Regions from separate parts of the Homo sapiens genome. Here all the other regions are linked to region 2. Evidence: promoter capture Hi-C in 16 types of primary human blood cells and fetal thymus (Javierre and others, 2016). All regions are on one chromosome and are shown on one strand. Each heading gives the region's core, a stretch centred on a gene start or on the middle of the fragment in contact. The rest is flanking DNA. Distances are from core to core; before and after follow the strand shown. Region 1 has its middle 20 kb from the start of VDR. Region 2 holds the start of CCDC184 (coiled-coil domain containing 184). Region 3 holds the start of OR8S1 (olfactory receptor family 8 subfamily S member 1).

Evidence for each region. The method cuts DNA at HindIII sites, captures the fragments that hold promoters and counts their contacts. A CHiCAGO score of 5 or more calls a contact.
Region 1: a contact is called between a fragment that was not itself captured here and the fragment with the promoter of CCDC184 in region 2, in 2 of 17 cell types (naive B cells and megakaryocytes). The highest score is 5.7, in naive B cells.
Region 3: a fragment that was not itself captured here is called in contact with the fragment with the promoter of CCDC184 in region 2 in 1 of 17 cell types (M1 macrophages); the score reaches 5.2 in M1 macrophages.

The regions. Positions count from the first base shown.
Region 1 is chr12:47,922,868-47,927,827 of GRCh38, forward strand. No RefSeq gene overlaps it. Among named protein-coding and RNA genes, the nearest start is that of VDR, 20 kb to the left of the region's middle. The HindIII fragment of the contact is 9,696 bases long and covers 1-4,960 here.
Region 2 is chr12:48,181,231-48,186,133 of GRCh38, forward strand. It overlaps CCDC184 (coiled-coil domain containing 184), which reads left to right and starts at 2,414. Exons shown (of 1, transcript NM_001013635.4): 1 at 2,414-4,696. The coding sequence starts at 2,893. The coding sequence ends at 3,477. The HindIII fragment of the contact is 3,853 bases long and covers 157-4,009 here.
Region 3 is chr12:48,525,522-48,530,186 of GRCh38, forward strand. OR8S1 (olfactory receptor family 8 subfamily S member 1) reads left to right here and starts at 111. Exons shown (of 1, transcript NM_001390849.1): 1 at 111-1,049. The coding sequence starts at 111. The coding sequence ends at 1,049. RefSeq lists a silencer at 616-816. The HindIII fragment of the contact is 1,449 bases long and covers 2,358-3,806 here.

The DNA.
Region 1 (4,960 bases), core at 1,315-3,814, 260 kb before region 2:
TGAGTTTTAATTGTGCATTATCCGCTCTTCCAATTAAAATTAAAAACCATGTCGATCTCATTTATTGCCATCAGTCTAGTGTCTAGAATAACCCCGGCACACTGTAGGAACTCCATAAATATTTGAATGAATGGATGAACCAATATCAAGTAGATTTCTTCAACACAGGACTTCTCAGGGTCTTCCATGAGCAAATCTGTATCGGAACCTTCAAGCAAGAGACATAGTATGTGGGGTTTTCCAAACCTATTGGAACTATTCCTTGAAGCATCAAGTGGGAAATTTTTCCATTGCTCATACTTTTGGAGACTCTGCTTTAGGTTTTATGCATGACTTTGTACCTAAATGAATTTTAGATTCTGTCTGAAAGCTAGTTTAGAGAATTAGAGAGTCGGGAGGACCCAGGAGGCTATAAACAGAGCAAAGATATATAGATAATGAGAGTGGGAATGGAAAAGATCCTATAAGTAAGTAGTAATAAGTAGATGGAGACTTTTACCTAAGATTGCCCCAATATCTAGATGAGTAGATCTCTCTTAGGCTATGTCTCTGAGGCTGGACACAGTGGCTCACACCTGTAACCCCAGGACTTTGGGAGGCCAAGGCAGGTGGGTTGCTTGAACTCAGGAGTTCGAGACCAGCCTGGACAATATAGTGGGACACTATCTCTACGAAAAATACAGAAATTAGCCGGGCATGGTGGTGCACACCTGTAGTCCCAGCTACCCAGGAGGCTGAGGTGGGAGGATCACTTGAGCCCAAGGGGTAAAGGCTGCAGTGAGCTGTATTCACACCACTGTACACCAGCCTGGGCAACAGAGCAAGACCCTGTCTCAAAAAGGATATGTCTTTGACTTAAGGTCTTTCTCAGTCCAGTTGTACCTAGCATTAGACCCACTTGCTTCTGCTGAAGTTTTATTTATAAACAGAAAAGTTACCACCCTCAACAAGGGCTTAAATCAGGACAGACTGAGAACGTGCTAAGGAGGTTGTTGTGTCCACTTTACCTTCTGTGGGGGAGTTACTGATATGTCTTTGCAAATATGTCTTTTTAAATGTCTTAACTGCTTTTACCTGGGCAGGAGAAAGGTGAACTGGGAATTGAGAAAGGCTCGTGGGCTGGAGGGAGAGGAAGCTGCTATCTTGGGGAAGTTAAAATAACATTTCATCTTTGTCTTGGATGAACTGTAAACAGGTTCAATACTTTAATTTGCTTGAAAAATAGTTTTTCTAAATGCTTCTAAATTGGCTTAATAGTTCAGAGGAGAGAACATGATCTTTGCGGAAATAAGTCTCCAATTAAACCATGTACTAGCTGCGGAGGTATTATGATTGAGTTTAAAATGCAGGCACCATATTTTTTTTTTTTTTAGAAAAAGATGTAAGAAACTATCAACAATGACAGGCTTTAGAGAGAGAAACTTGGGTCAGGTGAGGGATGTGTTGAGGGAGATGTTTACTTTTCATCTTATCTTTCTGTTTCATTTGGCTTTTTACCATATACACATATTACTTTTTTAAAAATGTTAATGCATGAAAAGAATGTACTTCCCTATGTAGGTCACCCATCTCCATTTTCGTACCTGGGTCTAGGGTAGGAAGAAGCAGAAACTGGAAACATGAGAAAAGAACCAGCAAGGGTCAGCTCGGAACTCCACCAAGAGGGGCTACACATGGGGCCCAGCTGGGCCACGGGTTGGTGCTACTTGCCTTATCTGAAGGAGTGCGTCTAGCCATGCCTTATTACTAAAGAAAGAGAAGGATTGTATTAATGGGATCATTGCCCCTACTCCTCAGTTGATGGCATAAAGGCAAGAAATCTAATAACCTATTATCAAAATGTATGATTTTTCCAAAAAGAAAAGAGTTGGAATTTTCTCATCCCCATCAAAACCTTGGTGCTAAACTCAGGGATCTTGCCTGGTTCATATCTGTCTGAAACTGAAAACATTCCCACACCTCCAGAATTTGTCCTTCGTGGCCTGTCCTATTGTCATCTGCCCTGCAAGAGAAGGAATGACCACTGGGCTTACCTACTGAGGACAAACCTCTTGAATTGGCTCTTTTGAATCAATCATGCACTTTGCTGGGAAACAAAGGTATAAAACATTAGTTCTTGGGAGTAGTACTACCTCTGGGAGTGGTGAGTAATAAGTGCAGAGTCTGAAACTTTTTCAAATCAAGTTTGAAGAGGAAGAAAGAGGAGGAGGAGGAGGAGGAAGCAGCTTAAGAAAATGGATTGAGGCCAGGCGCAGTGGCTCATGCCTGTAATCCCAGCACTTTGGGAGGCCAAGGCGGGTAATCACCTGAGGTGAGGAGTTCGAGACCAGCCTGGCCAACATGGTGAAACCCTGTCTCCACTAAATACAAAAAATTAGCCAGGCATGGTGGTGGGTGCCTGTAATCCCAGCTTAGGAGGCTGAGGCAGGAGAATTGCTTGAACTCGGGAGGTGGAGATTGCAGTGAGCTGAGATTGTACCATTGCACTCCAGCCTGAGTGACAGAGAGAGACTCTGTCTCAAAAAAAAAAAAAAAAAAAAGAAAGAAAGAAAGAAAAAGAAAATGGATTGACCCAAAGTACCCTCAATATCTTTACAGAAATGTGACCCTTCAAACCAGATGCTCTTTCAGGTCCTTATCATTATGTCTTTGTAGCCTCTTCCTCTTCCTCTTCTGTTCCTTTCTTGATTCCTTCCTTGATTCCTTCCTTCCTTCCTTCCTTCCTTCCTTCCTTCCCTCTTTCCTTCCTTTCTTTCAATAGATGTTTACTGAATACCTACTAAGTGATGGGCATTGGTGCAATAGAAGATACAAAGATGAGTAACATACAGTGCCTACTCTCAAATACCTCATTAATACATCATAAGAGGTCTAGTCAAGAGTCAGTAAAGCTCTAGGACAGCTGTTGATTCTGAGTGAAGAGACCAAGATGGTGTCATGGAGAAGTTAACATTTGAACTAAAGAGAGAAAGTGAAATAAGTAGATTTTAGGATGGCCCCATGACCTTCACCCCCTGGTCTTACTCCCATGATTATATGGTAAATGGAGATAATCCAGGTGGGTCTGATCTAATCACATGAGCCCTGTAAAACCAGGGCATTGTATCTGGCTGGTGATAGAAGAATAAGTGAGAGACTTGAGGCATGAGAAGGGCTTGATATGCCATTGCTGACTTGAAGATGGAGGGACCACAGGAGAAGCAATGCAGATGGCTTTACAGACTCAAGAGAGACCCCAGTGACAGCCAGCTGAGAAATAGGAACCTCAGGCCTGCAGCCACTGGAACTGAATTCTGCCAACAGCCTGAATGAACTTGGAAGCAGATTCTTTCCCAGAGCCTCCAGAAAGAGGCTACCCAGGCGACACATGAATTTTGGGCTTATGAGACTCCAGACAGATAACCTAGCAGGGGTCACCTGGACTTCTGGCCTACAGAGCAGTGACTAATACATGGATGCTATTTATCATTAGGCTGTGGCACTTATTATACGGCACTAGAAAACTAATGCAAACAGTTTTCTATTCAGAGGGAAGAGCATGAGCATGATGATATGGAGCACTCAGAGACTTTAGGGGAGAGCAAGGGGCTCAGTATCTTCAGATATATCAGTGGGAAAGGAGTGGCATGGAGAGTCTGCAAAGCTGTTTGAGCCAGAGTGGGAAGTCATTTATTTTCATGCGTGTTAGGGAGTTGGGCTTTATCCTTGAGCACCATGTTCTACCTCCCCTTCCTCTTGGAAGCTACATCACCTCCTGCCTGGCATGGAAATATCATCTGTCTTTCTTTTCTTTTTTTCCTTTCTGTTTATATCTACCTGTATCATCTTGCCCTTCACTCTTTGCACTGTTCCCCTTGAGGTAAGAGAATCCCCAGGAGCCCTGCCTGCCAATGTGGCAAGACATAGCTATGGTGGGAAGACAGCTGTGCAGTCATGGCAAAGGCAATGTCCTCCTGCCCAAGTCCACCAGCATCCACCACCAGCTCTCCTCTCCACAGAGGGACTGGCTGATGAGGAGAGAGAGTGGAATCAATGTCTACAAATGGGAGGAATGGAGTGGACCAGAGCCTGGATGTCTCATTTAGACAGCAATGGTAGTGAAACTCTGAGCACTGACACAAGGATCCCAGCAAGTGCTGTTTGGAAAGTGAAGGAGGCGAGACGTATCCAACAAGGCCCTAGCAGAAAATACAATTCACCCCAGAGGGGTCAAATGAAGAGACCTTGAAGAAAAGTCAATTGATAGAGGTGTAGGCAAGGTTAAGGGAATGAAAATGGACTGTAGGAATATTAGGAAATCATTACCACCTTGATCTCAATGGCCCAAGGGATAAGGAAAGAAATAGCAACCAGAGCCCAGAGAGAGCTGGAAGCATGGAGAATGGGACTCCTGGCAGGAACTGCAGTCACTGCACAGAGACTTGGCCCTGGAGCAAGGAGAAGGAGGGAGAAATACTTGGCCTCCCTCTCCTCTGGCCCTCAGATCCCCTGAAAGTGCCTCCCCTGCTGGACCCTGTCTGAAGCCCTTCAGTGAGGGAGTCCATGGGGGCATAGTCCAGACAGCCAGCCTTCTGGGACACAGAACAGGACAGAGAAAGGTGAGAATGGATCCGAGTGGGAGGTGGGATTGAGGAACAGAGAATAACCCGAGGTAAGGGAACCAAGAGGTTCATTGGCTTTGCCATGATGTTGACTTTGCCATGACCTGAGCCATGTATGAACTCAAACAAGACCACTTTTGACCCTGGCACTGTTGCTATGGCTATACCCTTGCCAGTGGCACCCAAAAAAGGAATGATCTGAAAGAGGAAAGGCTCCCATGACAGCGAAGCTCATATCTTGGCCCTTTAGTTCAGGGATGCTCTATGAGTACAGCCACCTCCCATGACAGGAGAAGGTTTGGAGGAATAAATGAGGGTATCATATGTCATTGTGGGAGCTTCTGGCCAAGGGACATTAG
Region 2 (4,903 bases), core at 1,164-3,663:
GATCCCTTGTACTCTCAGTGGACTTCATGGCCAGCACCTCTGGACAGCATGATGTAATCTTATGCTGAAAGCCTTCACATCCTCAAGAATAGTGGCAAAAGGCCTTGTATGATGACATACCATAGCTCCTCCTGTATGGGGGCTATGCTTAGTGTAAGCTTATGGGATTTCAACAATGAGAGGTCCCCCACTGGGACAGAGTCACTCTTTGTAGGTAGAAGGTAGGGATATACCTGAAGGGTGAATTGGCAAGATGAAATCTTCCATGTGAAGTGCTTGTCAAGAGATGTAAAGTAACAGACCTAGACAGAAAGTCTGAAAGCCATGCCAGTCTTTTCTGGCTATAGCAGAGCTCTCCTCGGAAGGATGAAAGCAGGGTTGGACCTATAAGCCCTGAGAACATGCTTGCTGTAGTATAATCAGAAACTTATGCTGTGTAAGCTCAGCTGTTTTCATGTGTTCTGTTTCTATTTCTAGTTTTCCTATAGTTTTTAATAAAGTCTCTTTGTAAACACCAGCCCACTTCAGCTGTGCTTATGGAAACCAAGGAAAAGCATTTCTGTCCTCTCTTGAGCCAGAGTTTCAGGAGTAATCTAAGGTGTTATTACCACGTGTGGGGTACAGAGCAGAGGTAGGAGTCCTAAGCAAGGTGAGAGTGCTGGAAATCTGTAGAATGAAGGAAGAAATGAGCAAGCAAATAGAATTGAATCATTAGTTTCAGAAAATACAATACTGTGTTTTTAAAATTTGTTCATATATTTGTTTTGGGAAATCAAATTTTTAATGGCTGCATAATACTTTATGTATCAGCAATTTTGCCTTAGTTTATTTAAACATTCTGCTGCTGGTCATTTAGGATAGTCCCCACTTGTTTCTATTTTAAAAGCAGTAAGATTGGTATAGGTCAAGCAGTCCTCTAGTGTCACAAAACTTTCCCTGGGCCAGCCTCACTCTTCATCACCAAGCACATAACCAGGGAAACCCAAAGGTAACACATTTGCTGTCACTGAACCGCCAGTCTACAAAACACTCACCTTTACGTAGTTCTTCTCTATCTTGAAGTGATATAGTTTGTTTCTCTTTCCCAGATTTATTCTTATGAACTTCATTTTTGGCTTCCGATCACTTGGCTTCCCTAATTTCCTAGGGTCATTATTAATTATTGTGCTCTGCCCAGGTGCTGATTCCTTCTCAATCTGCAATCATCTACGTATATTAAAGACAATTTTTCTTCTTCCTCCACCCTTCCTGCTCCACCCCTTAAATAGGGAAAGGGCTTGTCACAAAGGTTGGGGATACTCAGTGTATGTCTGAACTTGGGCACTGAAAGAGAGAGCGGGAATTACTCTAACACACAGTCCCCCCATCCATACCCTCCACACAACGGTCAACAGTTTACCTTTTCACCTGTGAGATGATGCAGACTGTTATTCAGAATTAGAAATAGTATTATAGATTATCCAGTCCAATTCCCTAACAGATGAGGAAAATGATGTGGCCAAGGTCGCTGAATGAATAAGTGGCAGAAACGAAACTGAATTCAGGTCTCCTAAAACCCACTACGTTTGGCTTGGGGAGTTCTGGATGAGAGCGTGGGACTTGGTGGTTTTTGTTATTCATTCAATAACTATATTAAGCATCTACATACTAGGTGCCAGGCACTATTTTAGGAGCTGGGGATTCCGTGATGGAGGGTGCAGGGGAGACAAAAATCTCTCCCCTTATGGAGCTTTCATTCTCAAAACTTAAGCACTTGGCCTCCCCATCTGGGACAAACTCCCAGAGACCTGCGTAGGAGCGGTAGGGTCTCATAAAGGAGGGAGTCCCATCCTTCCCCCGCTCCGGTGATTTCTATAGCTAGAGGGCTGATTTACTGCAGAAACCTCCGTAGCGCCCTCCTCCTGCCTCTGCACCGTCAGGCCCGGTGGGTCCGGCTCCAGAGCGCCACCGTGCCCCAGCTCAACTCTGGGATCATTAGCAACAGCCTCTCTACCCTCTCCGCTTTCCTGCGCATCGCTGGAGGACAGGGAGGCAGGACTCGACTTTAGCGCCATCCTCTGAGAAAGGAATGCGGGCTGGAAAAATCTTTCCAGGGCAGTCTCGCTGGGTCTCATACCCCGGCTAGGGGAGGGACGATCTCTCCCGGACTTGGAGGTTTCTGCAGCAGACGGCTCTCTCATACTTCCCTATTAAACATTGCGACCACACGCTCTTTCCAGCCTTGGCCGAAGCCACTGTAGCGTCCCCTCTCCTCCCCCCACCCCGCTAGTCCAGACTCCAGAGCCCCACTGCAGCTTCCAGCCATCCTCCCTTTTTCTTCGCCACTTCCTGGTTACCATGGAGACACACGTCATTTACGTGCCGTGCGTCGCCTTGGAAACAGAGGAGCATCCGCGACACCCCCGGGAGACCCACCCCAGCTGCTGCTGCCACACTCGCGGGCGCTGCCCGGTAATGGCCTGGGGGAGTCCCGAGTCCGACGCGCCGCTGGCCTCAGCCTGGACGCGGACCCCTCCGCGAGCGCGTCTGTGACCCACGGAACCGGCAGGCGCTCTCTGCTTGTGGCGCCCAGAGGGCGGCGCTGACACGGGCGCGATCCGGGAGGCGAGGCAGGGCAGGGCACTTTCGTCCCGGGGCGATCCCAAGAGACGCCGGCTCTGGGACCCTCGCCGGGTCCTCGTCCCGCAGCCTCTTCTCGGCCTCCCGCGATCCTGCCTGCGCCCTCTGCCCAGGACTCGTCTCTCACGTCGGCTCCCCGCCAGTCTCGGGAGCCTCCGCTTCCCTCGGCTCCCGCTAGCCCCTCCCGGGACCTCTCCCCCTCCACCCCCTCCCCCACCCCGGAGGCCGGGCTGGACGCGACCCAGAGCCTCCGCCACCCGCTTCTGCCACTCAATGGAGGACGGTCTGCTGGAGATCATGACCAAGGACGGCGGCGACATGCCGGCGCCCCTGGAGGTGTCCACCGTGCCGGCAGTGGGGGACGTGATCTCCGGGGAGTACAACGGCGGCATGAAGGAACTGATGGAGCACCTGAAAGCCCAGCTGCAAGCCCTGTTTGAGGACGTGAGGGCCATGAGGGGGGCCCTGGACGAGCAGGCCTCGCACATCCAGGTGCTCTCGGACGACGTGTGCGCCAACCAGCGAGCCATCGTCTCCATGTGCCAGATTATGACCACTGCGCCCCGCCAGGGCGGCTTGGGCGTGGTCGGCGGCAAGGGGAGCTTCCAGAGCGACCCCCAAGAGCCGGAGACTCCTTCGCCTGGGATCGGGGACAGCGGCTTGCTGGGTCGCGATCCCGAGGACGAGGAGGAAGAGGAAGAAGAGAAGGAGATGCCCAGCCCCGCCACACCCTCCAGTCACTGTGAGCGCCCCGAAAGCCCCTGTGCTGGTCTCCTTGGGGGGGACGGGCCACTTGTGGAGCCCCTCGACATGCCCGACATTACCCTGCTGCAACTGGAGGGCGAGGCCTCCCTGTGAGGGGACTCCGTGGGGCACTACCTTCCCGGGCTGTCTTTGGGTTTCCGAGTGCATGACGCGAGGGGGACTGAACGGCGCGGTGCGGCATGCTTCACTTGGACAGCTGCTCTTGTGGGTCAGGCAGAGAGAGACTCCCTCGAGGAAGGATTTGTAGGGTGAAGGACTTTGGGAGCATCGAGAATTCTTTCTGCCCAACTAAGCGAATTATAGCGAACTGCGGAAAGGTGAGGCTCCGGGAGAGGAAGCGCCCATCTCTGGACTCCCATCCATCCCTATCCTGTCCTTTCCCCCTTCCCAGACAACAGGAGAACCCGTGAATTGTGTAAATAAAATTCTGCTTTTTCTATTCTGAAAAAGGACTTACCTAGGACCATGGCAAATAATCTCTAACAATTTACCTGGAAATTAAGGAATTGGGGGTATTTTGTTCTGGCAACAGGAAATTTACCCTTCTGCTGAAATCCAAGATATTCAGTGCTCTGCAGAAGCCTCTCCCCCTCACAGATCTCTGCGGCTGCTGATTGGTAAAGGAAGCTTGAGGAGGGAACTGCAGCCCTAGGAATCTGGGTGAATGGGGTTCCAAGGGCCCCTGGGCTGGGAGGAGCTGGCTATGAATGTGCATGAAGACATAATAGCTCAACCTCTAGGATTTTGCATGCAGAGCGGATCCTGCCTTGTCACTGACTTCATCTGGGATTGCTTTTCCACTCCCTGGGGCTTAGAGAACAAAGAGCCCGGTTCACAGGCAGAGACTCGGGGGTGCTCAGCAGCAGCCCAGATTTAGGGGACATTTGAGGGACTCTTGGGGCCGCAGCCAAAAACTGTCTCTCCTGGCTACACCTGCTTAACTTCAGTTCCTTTTTCTGTCAATATGTCCTTGCCCACTGCCTCTCGGTGTTGCCTTCATAATGTCTTGTGTGTGTTATGTGTGTCTACTTGTGTAGTAGTGTGTGAGCCCTCAGGGGCAGGGCTTGTGGCTCTGGTGTTAGGTTCAGGGGCTTCAGACCCTTCTACGAGCTCCAAGCTATCAATGGCGCTTTTCTCTCCCTCTTCCCCCAACCAGGGCATGGAGCATGTGGCTGTCCTGAGGTTCTTTTACTGATGTGCCGCCCTTCCACCTCCTCAAGTGGTGACTTTGTGTGCCCTCCCCCTCCTTTGTGTATTCCTTCTCAATGCTTTCCTTGGTGTTAACCTTAATAAAAAGGCGTCATCTCCCCTCCTTGCTGACTGGTACTAAGGGGATATCAGGGTGGGTCTTAGTGGGAACTGCAGGGGCCATGCCTTCCCTCCTCTCTCCTTGCCTCCAGTTCAAGGAGTTGACTGTCCCTGCCCTGGTTGGGACAGGCATTGCCAACTCTCCCTGCTTTCCCTTCTGTCCTGGACCTTGACCTCAAGCTGCCCTGGGGAAGGAGGTGGTAAGTGTTGA
Region 3 (4,665 bases), core at 1,832-4,331, 340 kb after region 2:
CCATGTGACCGATATGAAAAGAGAATCAGTACCATGAGAAAACTGTCTGGAGTAATCTTGACTTGGCTGCTATGATTTTACGAGTTATTTCTAGGGAGTAGCCTTTGTAAATGGCCTTGGGGAATCACAGCACCATCACCGAGTTCCTCCTCCTTGGGCTGTCTGCCGACCCCAACATCCGGGCTCTGCTCTTTGTGCTGTTCCTGGGGATTTACCTCCTGACCATAATGGAAAACCTGATGCTGCTGCTCATGATCAGGGCTGATTCTTGTCTCCATAAGCCCATGTATTTCTTCCTGAGTCACCTCTCTTTTGTTGATCTCTGCTTCTCTTCAGTCATTGTGCCCAAGATGCTGGAGAACCTCCTGTCACAGAGGAAAACCATTTCAGTAGAGGGCTGCCTGGCTCAGGTCTTCTTTGTGTTTGTCACTGCAGGGACTGAAGCCTGCCTTCTCTCAGGGATGGCCTATGACCGCCATGCTGCCATCTGCCGCCCACTACTTTATGGACAGATCATGGGTAAACAGCTGTATATGCACCTTGTGTGGGGCTCATGGGGACTGGGCTTTCTGGACGCACTCATCAATGTCCTCCTAGCTGTAAACATGGTCTTTTGTGAAGCCAAAATCATTCACCACTACAGCTATGAGATGCCATCCCTCCTCCCTCTGTCCTGCTCTGATATCTCCAGAAGCCTCATCGCCTTGCTCTGCTCCACTCTCCTACATGGGCTGGGAAACTTCCTTTTGGTCTTCTTATCCTACACCCGTATAATCTCTACCATCCTAAGCATCAGCTCTACCTCGGGCAGAAGCAAGGCCTTCTCCACCTGCTCTGCCCACCTCACTGCAGTGACACTTTACTATGGCTCAGGTTTGCTCCGCCATCTCATGCCAAACTCAGGTTCCCCCATAGAGTTGATCTTCTCTGTGCAGTATACTGTAGTCACTCCCATGCTGAATTCCCTCATCTATAGCCTGAAAAATAAGGAAGTGAAGGTAGCTCTGAAAAGAACTTTGGAAAAATATTTGCAATATACCAGACGTTGAGTTAAAAAACAAACATTGTTGGCCGAGCACTGTGGCTCATGCCTGCAGCAGGAGGATTGCTTGAGCTCAGGAGTTCGAGATTAGCTTGGCCAACATGGTGAAACCCTGTCTCCAAAAAAAAAAAAAAATAGGCCGGGCATGGTGGTGTGCACCTGTAATTCCAGTTACTTGGAAGGCTGAGGGAGGAGGATCACTTGAGCGTGGGAGGTCAAGGCTGCAGTGAGCTGAGATTGCACCACTGCACTCCAGCCTGGGCAACAGAGCAAGACCCTGTCTCAAAAAAAAAAGATTTTGGAAAATTTAGGTCAAGCTGCATACAACATGACACTGGATAAGTTTATAGTAGTAAGTATTCCTGGCTACCCTCAGTGTCTGATACTGCAAGCTGTAAATTAGAAGTGCATGAGAGAATGGTACAAAGTTATTACAAGTAGGAAGGTTAACTTTAATCCCTCTTAGTGACAAAGCAAATTATTAAATTATTACCTCAATAAAGTTTTGTTATGAACATATTGATTCATTTTTCTCATTCTAAAACATTCATCTTGGGCTTTGCATTTAGTAAAATCATTAGCGTCGCAAATCTATCATTATTTTTAATTTACTTTGGTGAACACACTAAAAGTCATGGCATTTAATAAGAACACAGTGTCATGGATGCGTGGGAGAGAAAAGTCACTAGATAAGACTTGATGGGAAGAAAGAGAAAGATTTCCAACCGTGTGGCCATAGAAGACATAAACACCTAAGAGAACTTCAGAGAGGGAATCAACATACTGAGGCAGAACTTGGACTCAGATAAAATTCCCAAGAACTTCACTGTGTGTGCAGCTTGGTGGCCAGCTCTCCGGTGCAAAAGATTGCAAGGAGGCTCTGTGGCTCTAGAAACTTCATTCCTCACATGGTCTTCATTCACTGTATACGGGATTTATATTTTTTCCAATTAGCTGATCTTATCAGTGTGTCTTTTCCTTGTAGAGTGCAGGCTATGTACCCTAGACAAATAATCTTGTTTTGACCTCATCTCAAGTGAATCCTGAAACTATCTTTGTCTCATCTTTCATTGTTTAGTGTCAGGTGGTTTGCCGGTTCTAAGGGCACTGAAAAACTCTCACGTAATAAACATTTTTTCCTATAAAACAAATGCTTCTGATTTGTTTAAGCTATATTTTACAATTGCCTAACTTACTGTAGTTAACTGAAAAGGTGCAAAAACTATCTACAAATTATTGAATTTATTGAATATTAACTTGCACTTTTCTCAAGCTTCTTTCACAAACTCTCTTCGTTCTAATTGTCAGTTTTAAAAGCTTTTCATGAAAAAAACGTATCTGTTACAAGGGGGAAAGAAGCCTCCGGGACAGCAGTCATTTGCCTCAGCTGCACAAAGGCCAGGCCAGATGGAAGAGACCAGCCTTCACCGAAGGCCGCAGGGAGCCCGGACACCCGGAGCTGAGCATTCCGGTCACGCCTCAACCCCAAGGGGCCTGCGCATGCTCCGCGCTGCGCGCGGCGCCCACGGCCCTGCCCTGATACGCAGGAGCCCCGGGATAGAGAAACCCAGATGAAAACACAAGCCCAGTGAGATGTTGGCCTCCTCATCTGCTACCCTCGCCGTCACCTCTGCGCACCAAGCCTTCTGTCCCGGAGAAGAAGCCGTATTTGGTCTCCCTCGATGGGCGAGACCGGGGCCACGCGGGCACCGTGATCCCGCCACTGCATCCCGGGGACCCGCCGCTCATCCTGGAGCGGCTCAGGGCCGTTTAGCAGCTTCCGCAGGTGCTGCCTGGCCCCCGTAGACACCAAGCCAGCTTATCAAAATTAAGGCAGAAGGCCCAGCATTCGGTGTCCACACACCTGGACAAGCAGGAATGGAATCCTACAATGCGCAAAAACTGATTGCGAAGTGGCCTGAGGCAGAGTGTTTTTCAGTCAGGGACGTTGAAAGCTGGAGTTGACGGGGTTCTTTATCAGATGGTGGATCCAGAACTAAACCACATCCCCAGGCCACCAGTGGAATGAGCAATTCACGAGATCCTGGGCGCCCAGAAGACAGCAATGGTGCCAGTGCCCCCTCCAGAGCCCAAAGACCAGTACCCTCCAGCCTTCCATCTCAGGGCGCTTCCCAAGAATATGTCCCACCCGTTTTGAAAGCTCCATTTGAGTTAATGGTGAAGAAGTAGCTTCGGTTACATGGTTACATAAGAGTGCAACTTCAGAATGAAGATAGGCCGAGGTCTCACTGATTTCGGTATTTCAGCCTTGACTGTGGGCAGTGTCCAGTTTGAACGGGGAGAGAGTTTGACGTTGGGGAAGTTGACTGTGTTGTCCCCTTCGTTGTGCCGCCATTTGACCAGCCTGTCCAAAGGTACAACGCCCAGTAGACACTACAGGGAGATAGAGAGACACTGCAGCAACCTGAGGTTGTCCTGAGACAAACTTTTATACTTGAACATGGAGACTGCACATGGATTTTGGGTTTGTGCTCTGTAATACACAAAAGCTACAATTAAAGAACATAACCAGTCCCAAAGATAATTTCAAAGAATAACGGCAATTTAAGAGGTAGCTGGAAGTGGGGATTTGACAGTGCTTATTTGACGTTACTTCTCAGAGTTGCAAACTAAAATGTACAAACCGTTAGCATCAGATATCTTGATGGTTGAAGGTTGTTATGACCTTCCTGTACATGAATCTTTTACGTTCCCTTTCCCTTGTAAGAGGTGACAAAACATGGAACCCTAGAATGTGTGAGGAAGCTTGGACATTAGGTATAAGGAAAAACATTTGCAAGCTGTCTGTCCAGGGCCTCTTCCTGTCCTGCAAGGGCTGGTGAGTCTTGGGTGTGTTTAGTTTATTCTCATGTTTGTGTTATTTGAAAAAGTGAATGGTCAATAAATGGCTTCAGATTTATAATAAAATCATTTGATACTAAAAGAAAGAAATTTCACTAGGAATTTATCCTGAGTAAATCATCATGAATATGCACAAATGTATTTTTACAAAGATGTTTATTTCAATACTATTTATAGAGGTTAAAATTTTTGTAGCAATCGCCGGGCACGGTGGCTCACACCTGTAATCCCAGCACTTTGGGAGACCGAAGTAGGCAGATCACCTGAGGTCGGGTTCAAGACCAGCCTGACCAACACGGAGAAACCCCTTCTCTACTAAAAATACAAAATTAACCAGTCACGCTGATGCATGCCTGTAGTCCTAGCTATTCGGGAGACTGAGGCAGGAGAATCGCTTGAACCTGGGAGGCGGAGGTTGCGGTGAGCCGAGGTCATGTCATTGCACTCGGCAACAAGAGGGAAACTCCAATGCAAAAAAAAAAAAAAATTGTAGCAATCTAGATGTCTAACAATATGGTTTTTGTTACATATATTCTACTACATCCAGAGAAATATTTCATTACACGGAAACATTCATGATATACACTGTTAAGTTTTAAAAAAGTATATCACAACTCAACATGTAAAGTACAATCTGATTTACGTTTTTATAACTATATTTATTTCTGTCTGTATAACTATGTCATTGTAAATTTATCTATCTACCTATCCATGTTTATATCTGTCATTATTGATATTGCCACAGAAAAAAATAGACACCT